Linked DNA regions of Homo sapiens: region 2 is linked to region 1. Evidence: promoter capture Hi-C in human tissues and cell types (Jung and others, 2019). All regions are on one chromosome and are shown on one strand. Each heading gives the region's core, a stretch centred on a gene start or on the middle of the fragment in contact. The rest is flanking DNA. Distances are from core to core; before and after follow the strand shown.

What was found. Contacts are between HindIII fragments. The study calls those that stand out against the background at their distance.
Region 2: a fragment that was not itself captured here is called in contact with the fragment with the promoter of S100A12 in region 1 in 6 of the 25 tissues and cell types used here (H1 embryonic stem cells, aorta, heart left ventricle and 3 more).

Annotation. Positions count from the first base shown.
Region 1 is chr1:153,374,272-153,381,490 of GRCh38, reverse strand. It overlaps S100A12 (S100 calcium binding protein A12), which reads left to right and starts at 5,870. Exons shown (of 3, transcript NM_005621.2): 1 at 5,870-5,939; 2 at 6,879-7,036. The coding sequence starts at 6,899. It also overlaps the pseudogene LAPTM4BP1. RefSeq lists a silencer at 937-1,107. The HindIII fragment of the contact is 10,940 bases long and covers 1,980-7,219 here.
Region 2 is chr1:153,316,636-153,323,864 of GRCh38, reverse strand. No RefSeq gene overlaps it. Among named protein-coding and RNA genes, the nearest start is that of PGLYRP3, 7.3 kb to the right of the region's middle. The HindIII fragment of the contact is 4,919 bases long and covers 1,354-6,272 here.

The DNA.
Region 1 (7,219 bases), core at 4,621-7,120:
AGGATCTCTTGTATTTCTGTGGAATCGGTTGTAATGTCACCTTTGTCATTTCTGATTGTGTTTATTTCGATCTTCTCTCGTTTTCTTTGTTAATCTAGCTAATGGTCTATCAATCTTGTTTATCCTTTCAAAAAAGCAAGTTTTCCTTTCACTGATCCTTTGTATGGCTTTTTGGGTCTCAATTCACTTAGTTCTGCTCTTATTTTAGTTACTTCTTTTCTTCTGCTAGCTTTGAGCTTAGTTGTTCTTGTTTTTCTAATTACTTTAGGTGGAGGTTGGGTTGTTAATTTGAGATCTTTCTATTAATATCTTCTTTATATATATATATTTTTTATTATACTTTAAGTTCTAGGGTACATGTGCACAATGTGCAGGTTTGTTACATATGTATACATGTGCCATGTTGGTGTGCTGCACCCATTAACTCGTCATTTACATTAGGTATATCTCCTAATGCTATCTCTCCCCCCTCCTCCCACCCCGCTTGATATAGGCATTTAGCGCTATAAAATTCCCTCTTGGGAGGATAGAGGAGCGAGGCTGGCGGGCACACCGGTGAGCGGGCCGGAAGCCGGAGCAGCCGAGGAGTCTGCAGCAGCCGCGTGGCGGAGTCTGGGCGAGGAGGTCAACGCTCCTGGAAACTTGGGCTCGTCCTCGCGCCTCTGCTCCAGGAGCAATGACGATGGTCACGCCCTGGTCGCACCCTGGATGCGGTTCTACTCCAACAGCTGCTGCCTGTGCCTCCATGTCCGCACCAGCACCATCCTGTTAGGTGTCTGGTACCTGATCATCAACGCCGTGGTACTCCTGATTTTGTTGAGTGCCCTGGCTGATCCGGATCAGTATCACTTTTCAAGTTCTGAACTGGGAGGTGATTTTGAGTTCATGGATGACGCCAATACGTGCATTGCCATTGCGATTTCTCTTCTCATGATACTGATATCATGAGAATTAAGGCTAATTACGTAATTAAGGCTAATTACGAAGCATACAGGCAACACGCATTCTGGATCATCCCATTCTTCTGTTACCAGATTTTTTTTTTTTTCCGAGACGGAGTCTCGCTCTGTCGCCCGGGCTGGAGTGCAGTGGTGCGATCTCAGTTCATTGCAAGCTCCACCTCCCGGGTTCACGCCATTCTCCTGCCTCAGCCTCTCCGAGTAACTGGGACTACAGGCGCCAGCCACCACGCCCGGCTAATTTTTTGTATTTTTAGTAGAGACGGGGTTTCACCGTGGTCTCCATCTCCTGACCTCCTGATCCACCCCCTTCGGCCTCCCAAAGTGCTGGGATTACAAGCGTGAGCCACCGCACCTGGCCCTGTTACCAGATCTTTGATTTTGCTCTGAACACCTTGGTTGCAATCACTGTGCTTGTTTATCCAAACTCCATTCAGGAATACATACGACAACTGCCTCCTAATTTTCCCTACAGAGATGATGTCATGTCAGTGAATCCACCTGTTTGGTCCTTATTATTCTTCTGTTTATTAGCATTATCTTAACTTTTAAGGGTTACTTGATTAGCTGTGTTTGGAACTGCTGCAGATAGATGAACGGCAGGAACTCCTCCGATGTCCTGGTTTATGTTACCAGCAATGACACTAAGGTGCTCCTACCCCGGTATGATGATACCACTGTGAATGGTGCTGCCAAGGAGCCGCCGCCACCCTAGGTGCTGCCAAGGAGCCGCCGCCACCCTAGGTGTCTGCCTAAGCCTTTGAGTGGGCGGAGCTGGGGGCAGCAGCTTGACTTTTCAGATATCTGAGCAATAGTCATGTTATTTCACTTTTCAGGTGAGCTCTCTGCGCTTGTTTGTTGCCGAAGTGCTACTTTTTAAGATTTAGATGTTAGGTTGAAACCTGTAGTTTTCCTCAACATATGCTTTGTTAGAACACTGTGATAGATTGGCTGTAGAATACTTTCTGTAGGATTGGGGGTGTAACAGGCTTCACTAACCCTCCCTAGGAATGTAAACTTCCCCCAAATCTAGATGGACCTAGAGTCAGAGAAGTCTGCTTTCATACCTGTGGGACCCCAAAGTTGGGCAGTTAGTCATACGTTTCTCTCTGTTCCCTCTCTTTTGAAAGTGTAAAATAAAACCAAAAATAGACAACTTTTCTTAAACCTTTCCAATGTAGAGAACAAAATCTTACGAAAACAGGAATGCCAATTCTGTAATCATTTTTCTAATTAGGTAAATAGAAGTCCTTATGTATGTGTTTCAAGAATTTCCCCCATAACATCCTTTATGACAAGTTCAATGGCAGTTTGTGTTTGGTGGTAAAGGATTTTCTCCATGGCCTGACTTAAAACCATTGGAAAGCACCAGGCAGTGGGAGCAGTAACCACCTGATGTCTGTTCTCCTGCATCCCCTGTCCAGGGTCATGGGGCGGCGTGCCTCATCTATGTTAGAGGGTAAAACTGATGTGTTTAGTGCTGCGTGGGATCTGGTGCTCCTCTTCAGGATTCACATCCCCACCCAGGGCCTGCTTTTACTGAGTGTTCTGCCCTAGCCTGGTTCAAGGAAGTCATGCAACTGACTTTATCAAGTGGAATTGGGATATATTTGTTATATATTTACCTAAAAACATGGAAAGGATTTTCCTCCTTCTTCCCCTGCAAGGTACATTCTACAGCTTTGAACTTCCAAGTATGCCTAGTCACCTTTTAAAATGTAAAAGTTTTCAGAAAAATGAGGATTGCTTTCCTTTTATGCACTTATTATCTTGACTACCTAAGTTGCAAGGTATTTTTATATATTCATATGTTCAAAAGCCAGCAACTCTCCTGTTGGTCCATTATTGAATGTGCTGTGAATGAAGTCTTTTGCAATTAAAATGAGATTCGCCCACATCCAAGATGAAAAAAAAAATTCCCTCTTAACACTACTTTTGCTACATTCCAGATGTTTTGATATGTTGTGTTGTGTCTCTATTTTTGTATGTTTCAAAGAATTTTTTGATTTCTGCCTTAATTTTGTTGTTTAACCAAAAGTCAGGAACAAGTTGTTTAGTTTCCATTTATTTGTGTGGTTTTGAGAGTTCCTCTTGGTATTGATTTCTATTTTTATTCCACTGCGGTCCAAGATTCTTGGTATGATTTTGATTTTTTTGAATTTATTGAGATTTGCCTTATGACTGAGCATGTGGTTGATCTTAGAGTATGTTCCATGTGCAGATGAAAATAATATATATTCTGTGGTTGTTGGGTGCATTGTTCTATAGATGTCTATTAAGTCTAATTGGTCAAGTGTCAAATTTAAGTCCATAATTTCTTTGTTAGTTTTCTGCCTTGATGATTTGTCTACTGATGTCAGTGGGGTGTTGTCCCCTGCTATTATTGTGTGGCTGCCAAAATCTTTTCTTAGATGCAGAAGTACTTATTTTATAAATCTGGGTGCTCCAGTGTTGGGTGTGTATTTATTTAGGATGGTTAAATTTTCTTGTTAAATCGAACCCTTTATCACTATGTAATGCCCTTCTTTATCCTTTTTTACTGTTGTTGGCTTACAGTCTATCGGATCTGATTCAAGAATAGCAACCTCTGCTCTTTTTTGTTTTCTGTTTGCATGATAGATCTTTCTCCATCCCTTTACTTTGAATCTACAGGTGTCATTACACATGAGACAGGTGCTTGAAGACAGCAGAAGGATGGGTCTTGTTTTTAAATCGAATTTGCCAAGGTATGTGTTTTAAGTGCAGTGTTTAGGCCATTCACATTGGAGGTTAATATTTGTATGTGAGGCTGTGTTCCTGCTTTTTTGATTTCTATTTTTTTTTTTTGAGAGGGAGTCTCACTCTGTTGCCCAGGCTGGAGTGCAGTGGCGCGATCTCGGTTCACTGCAAGCTCCGCCTTGTGGGTTCACGCCATTCTCCTGCCTCAGCCTCCTGAGTATCTGGGACTACAGGTGCCTGCCACCATGCCTGGCTAATTTTTTGTATTTTTAGTAGAGATGGGGTTTCACCATCTTAGCCAGGATGGTCTCGATCTCCTGACCTCGTGATCCGCATTTAGCAACCTCTTGCCTGGATGGCTGGGATCCTGGGCTAGTCCCTTCTCCAGGCAGATGTGAAAAAAAAAAAACATCTCAGGATCCCAAACTTACTAAGCCAGAGGGAAAAGTCAAGCTGGGAAATGGGTCATGCAAGCCTGCCCCCACCCAGGTTGGTTTCTAAATAAGATAGCTACAAAGATAAAAAGCCATACACCAATCTCACAACTTGCCCACAAGGAAATTCCTTGTGAGCCTCAAGATCTTTACCCTAAAACAGTTCTATTGAATTTCACCCTGGCAGTGTAATTGACAGCTTATCTTCACAGGTGTGGGACAAAGGGCAGAACATAAAGTCATCCCTCTGCTCACCCAAGACAAATCCATATCTGATTGCTTCCTCTCCCCTATTTTTGTTATCTTATGTAAAAATGCAGATTCACTGAGCCAGATGAAGGCATAAGTGACTATTTCCTCTACTCCGCTCCCACATGAAAATTGTGTATTCAGTGAAAGATTGATCAAAGACTCAAAAGGATGCAATCACTTGTCTCTTATCTACTGACACATTTAAAAAATATTTCTTCCTCTTCCCCCAATATCCACTGTTTCTCCTTCAAATATTGAAGCCCTCAAAATCATCTTTGGAGAAAGACGTAGACCTACCTCTGGGCACGCATCCTTAACTTTGGCCAAATAAACCTCCTAAAATGATTGAGATTCACCTTGGTCATTGTCATTGATTTACACAAGCCTGATCATCCTGCTCTGGTGGTGTCCTCCTGGGCCTAGTGAAACAAATACTGTCAATGGCTTAACAATGTTGCACTGAGATTGTGTCAGTCAAGGTGACACATGGATCGGAGAGACAGACTTTTGCCTCCAGATCCAGAGAGGTCGGTGGGCACATGAAATGAACTAGCTTTGCTAAGGGGGATATCTGTGTTGTGGGGTAGATGGCAGCACAGGTTCTGGCATGGCCTTGATTGCTCAGCAATCTTATTGACCTCTAGGCATAAACCAAGGGCAGAGTGCTTTTGGATGTCCCTTAGCTTTGGTGCGACATGGGGAATGTACAGATGAGACTTAATCCATTTTGGGCAGGTTTCTGAATCTTGAAGGACCACCTCTCCATGAATCCTGGGCATCTGTTGTCCCTTGCTGCCTCTCTGTGAGTAATAAAGTTGCTTTACTAAAACTCGTGTGAATGTTCTGTCTTACTGAACTCATGAACATGGTAAAGTAACCTAGGCATGGTGAACTTTCTTCACACACAATGATTACCCTACTCCAGCTTTCTAGGTCTTTGTAACAGCCAAGTTAGAAAGTTGGGAAAGCAAAGGGGAGGCATAGTAGCATTGCTCTCTCCTTTTTTGAAAACCTTGGAATCTATTTTGAAAACTGATCCTCTGCTCCAGTGATGAACTTTGCATCCCAGAACGACTTAGGAGGAGGTCTCCCTACCTATCTCCTTAGCTGCATAAAGATCTTTAAGTTGATATTCCATTTGCCAAAACTGAAGAGCTGGTAACCTCATCTGTTAAAACAAGACACTCAGGCTGTAAAGTTTGTTCTCCTAGTCTTTTATTAGGGAGCAGTGGAGTAGAGCTAAACCTGAAACCTGGGCCCTGGCTCAGGGCTAAAAAAGGTTCAGGGCACCCCTGTGCGGGTGGGTGGAGTGGGGGTGATTTTGTTTCAGGCTGAGCAGGAGGGCAAAATTCAGTCTGGGTACAATCTGGGCTGCTCCTGTGGCAGCCTAAGCCACAGGTTTGAAGCTTCTATTGAGCAACAGAGTACTTTACATAAATTGCCTCAAGATGAATCAGAGATTTCTTCACCCAAGGGCTAAGATGAAGCCTGAACTGATTATAAAACCTTCCTTGGCTCAGTGCCCTTCACCACTGCTGGCTTTTTGCTGTAGCTCCACATTCCTGTGCATTGAGGGGTAAGTGCATTTTCCTTGGATGGGTTCTTAGGTGGTCCACAGGGTAGTGACTGCAGGTGACCACTTTGAAATCACAAGGTGTTGGAAACCACAACCCTCCACTTGCCTGAGCACCTCTGGGGTGATATTGCATTTTGGACCCAAGTAGATCAGCTCTTGTTGTGCTATGTAGACTCAGTCCCATGATTTAAGAATGGCTAAGCAGGCCGGGTACGGTGGCTCACGCCTGTAATCCCAGCACTTTGGGAGGCCGAGGCGGGCGGATCATGAGGTGAGGAGATCGAGACCATCCTGGCTAACATGGTGAAACCCCGTCTCTACTAAAAAAATACAAAAAATTAGCCGGGCGTGGTGGCGGGTGCCTGTAGTCCCAGCTACTCGGGAGGCTGGGGCAGGAGAATGGCGTGAACCCGGGAGGCAGAACTTGCAGTGAGCCGAGATCGCCCTACTGCACTCCAGCCTGGGCGGCAGAGTGAGACTCCGTCTCAAAAACAAACAAACAAACAAACAAAAAACCCAAAACAACAACAACAAAAAAAGAATGGCTAAGCAGGGGTGGGTTATGGACCATTTGTGGGGGATATGTGGCCATAGTGCCATCACCTGAGGAAAGCAAACAGCCTGGCCAATCACAGAACCCTTCCCAAGGGACCTTGAGTAAGCAATACCCTCCAAGTTATGCACCCCGGTGGATGAGGTGGTATGGAACATGGGCAACTGAGGCTGATTTTTTTAGACGTTAGACAGTATTATATGTTTTCTCCTCCCCATCCTATCCACACATGAGAAGTTCACCATGGATCAAACAGAGCAGAGACCACAAAATAGATATGGAGGATGTTATGTTTTCTTTAGGCCCTTGATTCAGAAAGAGAGGGGAGAGTGGAGGTTGAGGGGTGGGGGAGAAACTGCCTCTAGACTTCCCTTGTTTCCTTGAAGGTTAACATTAGGCTGGGAAGATGACAAAACTTGAAGAGCATCTGGAGGGAATTGTCAATATCTTCCACCAATACTCAGTTCGGAAGGGGCATTTTGACACCCTCTCTAAGGGTGAGCTGAAGCAGCTGCTTACAAAGGAGCTTGCAAACACCATCAAGGTAGGTGATGCCCCTCTCACTGCAAACTTGCCCATGACCCTGCACTGAGGGGAGTGGCAAGGCCTGGCAGAGGATGGTGGGACAAGGACTGGGGTGGGGTTGGCCCCAGTTTGAGCTCCCAAAGGATGCTCTCCCCGCTGCTGTGGGAGAGGTCCTTTGCTTCCCTCTCTCAATAACTCACTT
Region 2 (7,229 bases), core at 2,564-5,063, 56 kb after region 1:
ACTTCTGAGTCATATTTAGAAAGGCCTACCACTCCCATGTTATAATAAAATTAATTCATGTTTTCTCAAGTAATTCAATGTTTTAATTTTTGTATGTATTTTTTGATTCATTTAGAGTTTATTTTTGTGTTGTGTATGGTATGGATAAAAAATTTATTTCTTTCCATATGACTATCTACTTGTTTCAATAATATTTATTAAAAATGCCCATTCACTTGTTGGATCTACTTTTGTGTCCTTCAGACTTGTTTTAGCCCTAGTTCTACAGTTAAACATATTTGATGCTCACCACAAGTTTTTAGTTTTTTTGGCCGAAATTTCTCCAATAACTTGTTGACTGGATAAAGATTATTCTCTAGTAAAGTACTTAATAAAGAGCTTGCCTTAGTCCATTTTGTGCTGCTATAACAGTATACCTGACACTGGGTAATTTATAATAAACAGGAATTTATTGGCTTACCGTTCTGGAGGCTGGCAAGTCTGAGACTATGGCACAAGCACCTGGTGAAGGCCTTTCTGTTACATCCTCACATAGTGGAAGGCAGATAGGCATGAGCTCTCATGACTTAAACACCCCCCATTAGGCCCTACCTTTCAGAATTATCACATTGGGAATTACATTTCCAACACATAGATTCTGGGGAACACATTCAAACCATAGCAGGGCTCATGGAGCAAAAAGATTTACCTAGTTACTACATATTCAAAACAGTTTTTATCTGTAGCCTTTATACTTTGAAGGACAGATTGGCTGGACATAAAATCCTTGGCTCATGCTATCTTTTCTTTGATGAGTCTCTTGTAGGTTCTTCTTCACAATCTGTGTGTGAATGTTGTTGTTGAGAAGCCTGATGGCAATCTAATTTTTTCTCTTATAAATGGCTTGGTCTCTTCACATGACTGACTAAAAAGTTTATTTCTTCATATTTTAAGTACCATAACATGGTTTAGCAATTACTATTGCAAGTTAATTCTCACAGGTAAAAGTGTGGCCTTTCAATATGTAGAGTTGTATCTTTGATTTCAAAACATTTTTTCTTGAATTATTGTTTAAGGTATTTACTCTTTTACATTGGTTTTCTTCTTTTGGTACGTGAATTATATGTATGTTGGATCTCCTTTGCCTGTCTTCTACATTGATCACTTTTGCTTTAATTCTTTTTTCCTCCAATTTTTTATTGTGGTGAAATACACATACAGTTTAACATCATAAGTATTAAGTGTACAGTTCTGAGATAATAAGTGCATCATATTGTGTACAAACTCTCTCTAATTCTTTTTTTTCTCTGTCTTTTTAAAAAATTTTAGTTTCTTTGGACTTTTAAATTTCTTTTCTCTAGACACCTGACATGTGTTTTCTGGGGCACATGCTCCCCTTTGTACTCCTTGTATTTTAGTCTTAATTCCTGAGATGATTATGTCACTTCTCTTTCACATCCTCCTATTGCCGAGTTAAATTCTTCTTTGAGGCCTTTTACTTCTGTTTTGTGAATTTTTTTATAGGTAGACAATTAGGAAAATTATGTTGAAATATGTTTTCCCTCTGCCTATTGGAACCTTTTTTAATGATGAGTTTTTTGTTAATAAAATATGATCTTATGCCATATGTTTAAATGGAGGCTTTGTTTGGATGTGACAGTTTGCCTTTTTATTATTCGTATTTGAATGAGTTGGTTTTTTCTGGTCCAGTTGCTACAGGAGTATCCTGTGACAGTTGTGTTTGGAGGTGGGAGAAAATTAATATAGCTTCTCCTGTTTCTCAGCTCATTGGCTCCTCCATCTGTTGCACTCAATTGGTAGTTTATTGGATATATTGTGATACTACATTTGTTCTCCTTGCACTCCCAGTCATTTCTGTTGATCTCCACCAGTTCTCATGCAATACCCTTTTCATTCTTAGAACTGTCCAGAGCAGTGCCCCTCTAGGTGGTCCCTCACATTCTGGTGATGAATATCTGCTGTGGATTCCAGATTATAATGGTCTCTTTTTCCATCTCCACGTTTCCTCATAGCACTCACCATTCCACTACCTCACCATTCATTGTTATGGCTTCTAGTATTAGTTTCCTGACTTGCTCTCTCCCCTCTCCACACTTACTTTCATATACCAAAAAGTTTGTGGCCATTTTTGTCTTCTTAAATTATATATATTTACAGCACACTACATGATGTTTTGGTACATGTATACATTGTGAAATGGTTAAATCAAGCTAATTAACATATCTATCACCATGCATACTTGTTTTTTTTTGTGGTGAGAAGATTTAAGATCTACTCTTAGCAATTTTCAAGTATACAATATATTAGTATTAACTATGATCACCTTGCGGTACTACGGATCTCCCAAACATATTCATCCTTTGTAACTAAAATTGGATTTTTTTAATCTGCTAATTTTGCTAAAGGTGTAGGATTTTAACATATTAATTCTTCTTGTGTCTTTGTATGGTTATGAGAAAGATACATCAAAGATTCCATTCTAAGCTGTTGACATGCTCTTATATGGCCAGGAGGCTACCTGATTATCTTAGATACTGTATTTGTTTTCTATTGCTGCATAACAAATGGCCACAAACTTAGCAGCTTAAAACAACAACATTTATTATTTCATAGTTTCCATGGGTCAGAAATCTGGGCACGACTTATGTAGGTCCTCTGCTAAAGTCCTTACAGGGCTAAGTTAAGGTCTGAAGGGCTGCATTCTCATCTGGAGGCTTGACTGAGGAAAAATCTGCTCCCAAGCTCATTCAGTTTGTTGGCATCATTCATTTCCTTATGGCTGTGTGACTGAGGCCCCTGTTTTCTTGTTAGATGCTGGCCTGGAATCATTCTTAGCTCCCAGAGGCATCTCTCAGATCCACTCTGGGGCCCCCTTCATAGGCCTTCTCACAACATGACAGGTTACTCTTTCAAGCAGGATCATTTCTCTTCAGGAAGTAAGACAACTAGGTTGGGCACAGTGGCTCACACCTATAATCCCAGCACTCTGGGAGGCCAAGGCAGGTGGATCTTTTGAGCTCAGGAGTTCAAGACCAGCCTGGGCAATATGGTGAAACTCCATCTCTACACAAATTCAAAAATCAGCCAGGTGTAGTGGTGCACCTGGAATCTCAGCTATTTGGGAAGCTGAGGTGGGTGCACAGAAGGCTGGGAGGTCGAGGGTGCAGTGAGCCAAGATTGCACCACTTCATCACAGCCTGGGTGACAAAGCAAGACCCTATCTCAACAAAAAAAGAAAAAAGAAAGAAAAGAAAGTAAGGCAACTAAACATATTGAGTATGCCAAGAGAGTGCTCTTTCAAGATGGCCGAATAGGAACAGCTTCGGTCTGTAGCTCCCAGTGAGATTGACGCAGAAGATGGGTGATTTCTGCATTTCCAACTGAGGTACCTGGTTTATTGGTTCATCTCATCAAGACTGGTTGGACCGTGGGTGCAGTCCATGGAGGGTGAGCTGAAGCAGGGTGGGGCATCACCTCACCTGGGAAGTGCAAGGAGTCAGGGAATTTCCCTTTTCCAGCCAAGGGAAGCTGTGAGAGACTGTACCAGGAAGAACGGTACACTCCTGCCCAAATACTGCACTTTTGCCATGGTCTTTGCAACTGGCAGACCAGGAGATTTCCTCTGGTGCCTGGCTCGGTGGGTCCCACGCCCATGGAGCCCAGCAAGCTAATATCCATTGGCTTGAAATTCTCACTGCTAGAGCAGCAGACTGAAATTGACCTGGAATGCTGGAGCTTGCTGGGGGGAGGGGCATCCACCATTGCTGAGGCTTGAGTAGGCGATTTTATGCTCATAGTGTAAATAAAGCTGCCGGGAAGCTTGAACTGGTCAGAGCCCACTGCAGCTCAGCAAGGCTGACTGCCTCTCTAGATTCCACCTCTGTGGGCAGTGCATATCTGAACAAAAGGCAGCAGCCCCAGCCAGGGACTTATAGATAAAACCCTCATCTCCCTGGGACAGAGCACCTGGGGAAAGGGGCAGCTGTGGGCAAAGCTTCTCCAGACTTAAACGTCCCTGCCTGACAGCTCTGAAGAGAACAGTGGTTCTCCCAGTATGGCATTTGTGCTCTGATAATGGACAGACTGCCTCCTTAAGTGGGTCCCTGACCCCTGTGTAGCCTGACTGGGAGACACCTCCCAGTAGGGACAGAGAGACACCTCATACAGGAGAGCTCTGGCTGGCATCTTGTTGGTGCCCCTCTGGGATGAAACTTCCAGAGGAAGGATCAGGAAGCAATATTTGCTGTTCTGCAGCCTCTGCTGGTGATGCCTAGGCAATCAGCGTCTGGACCTCCAGCAAACTCCAACAGACCTGCAGCTGAGGGGCCTGACTGTTAGAAGGAAGACTAACAAACAGAAAGGAATAGCATCAACATCAACAAAAAGGACATCCACACCAAAACCCCATCTGTAGGTCACCAACATCAAAGACCAAAGGTAGATAAAACCACAAAGATGGGGAGAAACCAGAGCAGAAAGGCTGAAAATTCCAAAAATCAGAAGATTTCTTCTCCAAAGGACCACAACTCCTCACCAGCAAGGGAACAAAACTGGATGGAGAATGAGTTTGATGAGTTGACAGAAGTAGGCTTCAGAAGGTGGGTAATAACAAACTTCTCCGAGCTAAAGAAGCATGTTCTAACCCATCGCAAGCAAGTTGAAAACCTTGAAAAAAGGTTAGGGGAATGGCTAACTAGAATAACCAGTGTAGAGAAGAACATAAATGACCTGATGGAGCTGAAAAACACAGCATGAGAACTTCATGAAGCATACAAAAGCTTCAATAGCCGATTTGATCAAGGGAAGAAAGGATATCAGTGATTGAAGATCAAATTAATGAAATAAAGTAAGAAGACAAGATTAGAGAAAAAAGAGTGAAAAGAAATGAACAAAGCCTCCAAGGAATATGGGACTATGTGAAAAGACCAAATCTACGTTTGATTGGTGTACCTGAAAGTGACAGGGAGAATGGAACCAAGTTAGAAAACACTCTTCAGGATATTATCCAAGAGAACTTCCCCAACCTAACAAGGCAGGCCAACATTCAAATTCAGGAAATACAGAGAATGCCACAAAGATATTCCTCTAGAAGAGCCACCCTAAGACACATAATCATCAGATTCACCAAGGCTGAAATGAAGAAAAAAATGTTAAGGGCAGCCAGAGAGAAAGGTCCCACAAAGGGAAGCCCATCAGACTAACAGCAGATCTCTCGGCAGAAACTCTACAAGTCAGAAGAGAGTGGGGGCCAATATTCAACATTCTTAAAGAATTTTCAACCCAGAATTTCATATCCAACCAAACTAAGCTTCATAAATGAAGGAGAAATAAAATCCTTTACAGACAAGCAAATACTGAGTGATTTTGTCACCACCAGGCCTGCCTTACAAGAGCTCCTGAAGGAAGCACTAAACGTGGAAAGGAACAACTGGTACCAGCCACGGCAAAAGCATGCCAAATTGTAAAGACCATTGACGTTATGAAGAAACGTCATCATAATGTCATCATGCATAAACGTTAGTTGTTTGCATCAACTAACGTGCAAAACAACAAGCTAGCATCATAATGACAGGATCAAATTCACACATAACAATATTAACCTTAAATGTAAATGGGCTAAATGCCCCAATTAAAAGACACAGACTAGGAAATTGGATAAAGAGTCAAGACCCATCAATGTGCTATATTCAGGAGAACGATCTCACATGCAAAGACACACATAGGCTCAAAATAAAGGGACGGAGGAAGATCTACTAAGCAAATGGAAAGCAAAAAAGAAGCAGGAGTTGCAATCCTCATCTCTGATAAAACAGACTTTAAATGAACAAAGATCAAAAGAGACAAAGAAGGCCATTACATAATGGTAAAGGGATCAATTCAACAAGAAGAGCTAACTATACTAAATATCTGTGCACCCAATACAGGAGCACCCAGATTCATAAAGCAAGTCCTTAGAGACCTACAAAGAGACTTAGACTCCCACACAATAATAATGGGAGACTTTAACACCCCACTGTCAATATTAGACAGATCATTGAGACAGAAAATTAACAAGGATATCCAGGAATTGAACTCAGCTCTGCACCAAGTGGACCTAATAGGCATCTACAGAGCTCTCCACCCCAAATGTTGCAACAGAATATACATTCTTCTCAGCATCACAATGCACTTATTCTAAAATTGACCACATAATTGGAAGGAAAACACTCTTCAGCAAATGCAAAAGAACAGAAATCACAACAAACTGTCTCTCAGACCACAGTGCAATCAAACTAGAACTCAGGATTAAAAAACTCACTCAAAACCACACAACTACATGCAAACCGAACAACCTGCTCCTGAATGACTACTGGGTCAACAACGAAATGAAGGCAGAAATAAAGATGTTCTTTGAAACCAATGAGAACAAAGACACAATGTACCAGAATGTCTGGGACACATTTAAAGCAGTGTGCAGAGGGAAATTTATAGCACTAAATGACCACAAGAGAAAGCAGGAAAGATCTAAAATCGACACCCTAACATCATAATTAAAAGAACTAGAGAAGCAAGAGCAAACACATTTAAAAGCTAGCAGAAGACAAGAATAACTAAGATCAGAGCAGAACTGAAGGAGATAGGGACACAAAAAACCCTTCAAAAAATCAATGAATCCAGGAACTGGTTTTTTGAAAAGATCAACAAAATTGATAGACTGCTAGCAAGACAAAGAAGAAAAGAGAGAAGAATCAAATAGGTGCACTAAAAAATAATAAAGGGGATATCCCCACCGATCCCACAGAAATACAAACTACCATCAGAGAATACTACAAACACCTCTACGCAAATAAATTAGAAAATCTAGAAGAAATGGATAAATTCCTGGACACATACACCCTCCCAAGACTAAACCAGGAAAAAATTGAATCTCTGAATAGACCAATAACAGGTTCTGAAATTGAGGCAATAATTAATAGCCTACCAACCAAAAAAAGTCCAGAACCAGACAGATTCACAGCCAAATTCTACCAGAGGTACAAAGAGGAGCTGGTACCATTCCTTCTGAAACTATTCCAATCAATAGAAAAAGAGGGAATCCTCCATAACTCATTCTATGAGGCCAGCACCATCCTGACATCAATGTCTGGCAGAGACACAACAAAAAAGAGAATTTTAGGCCAATGTCTTTGATGAACATCAATGCGAAAATCCTCAATGAAATACTGGCAAGCCGAATCCAGCAGCACATC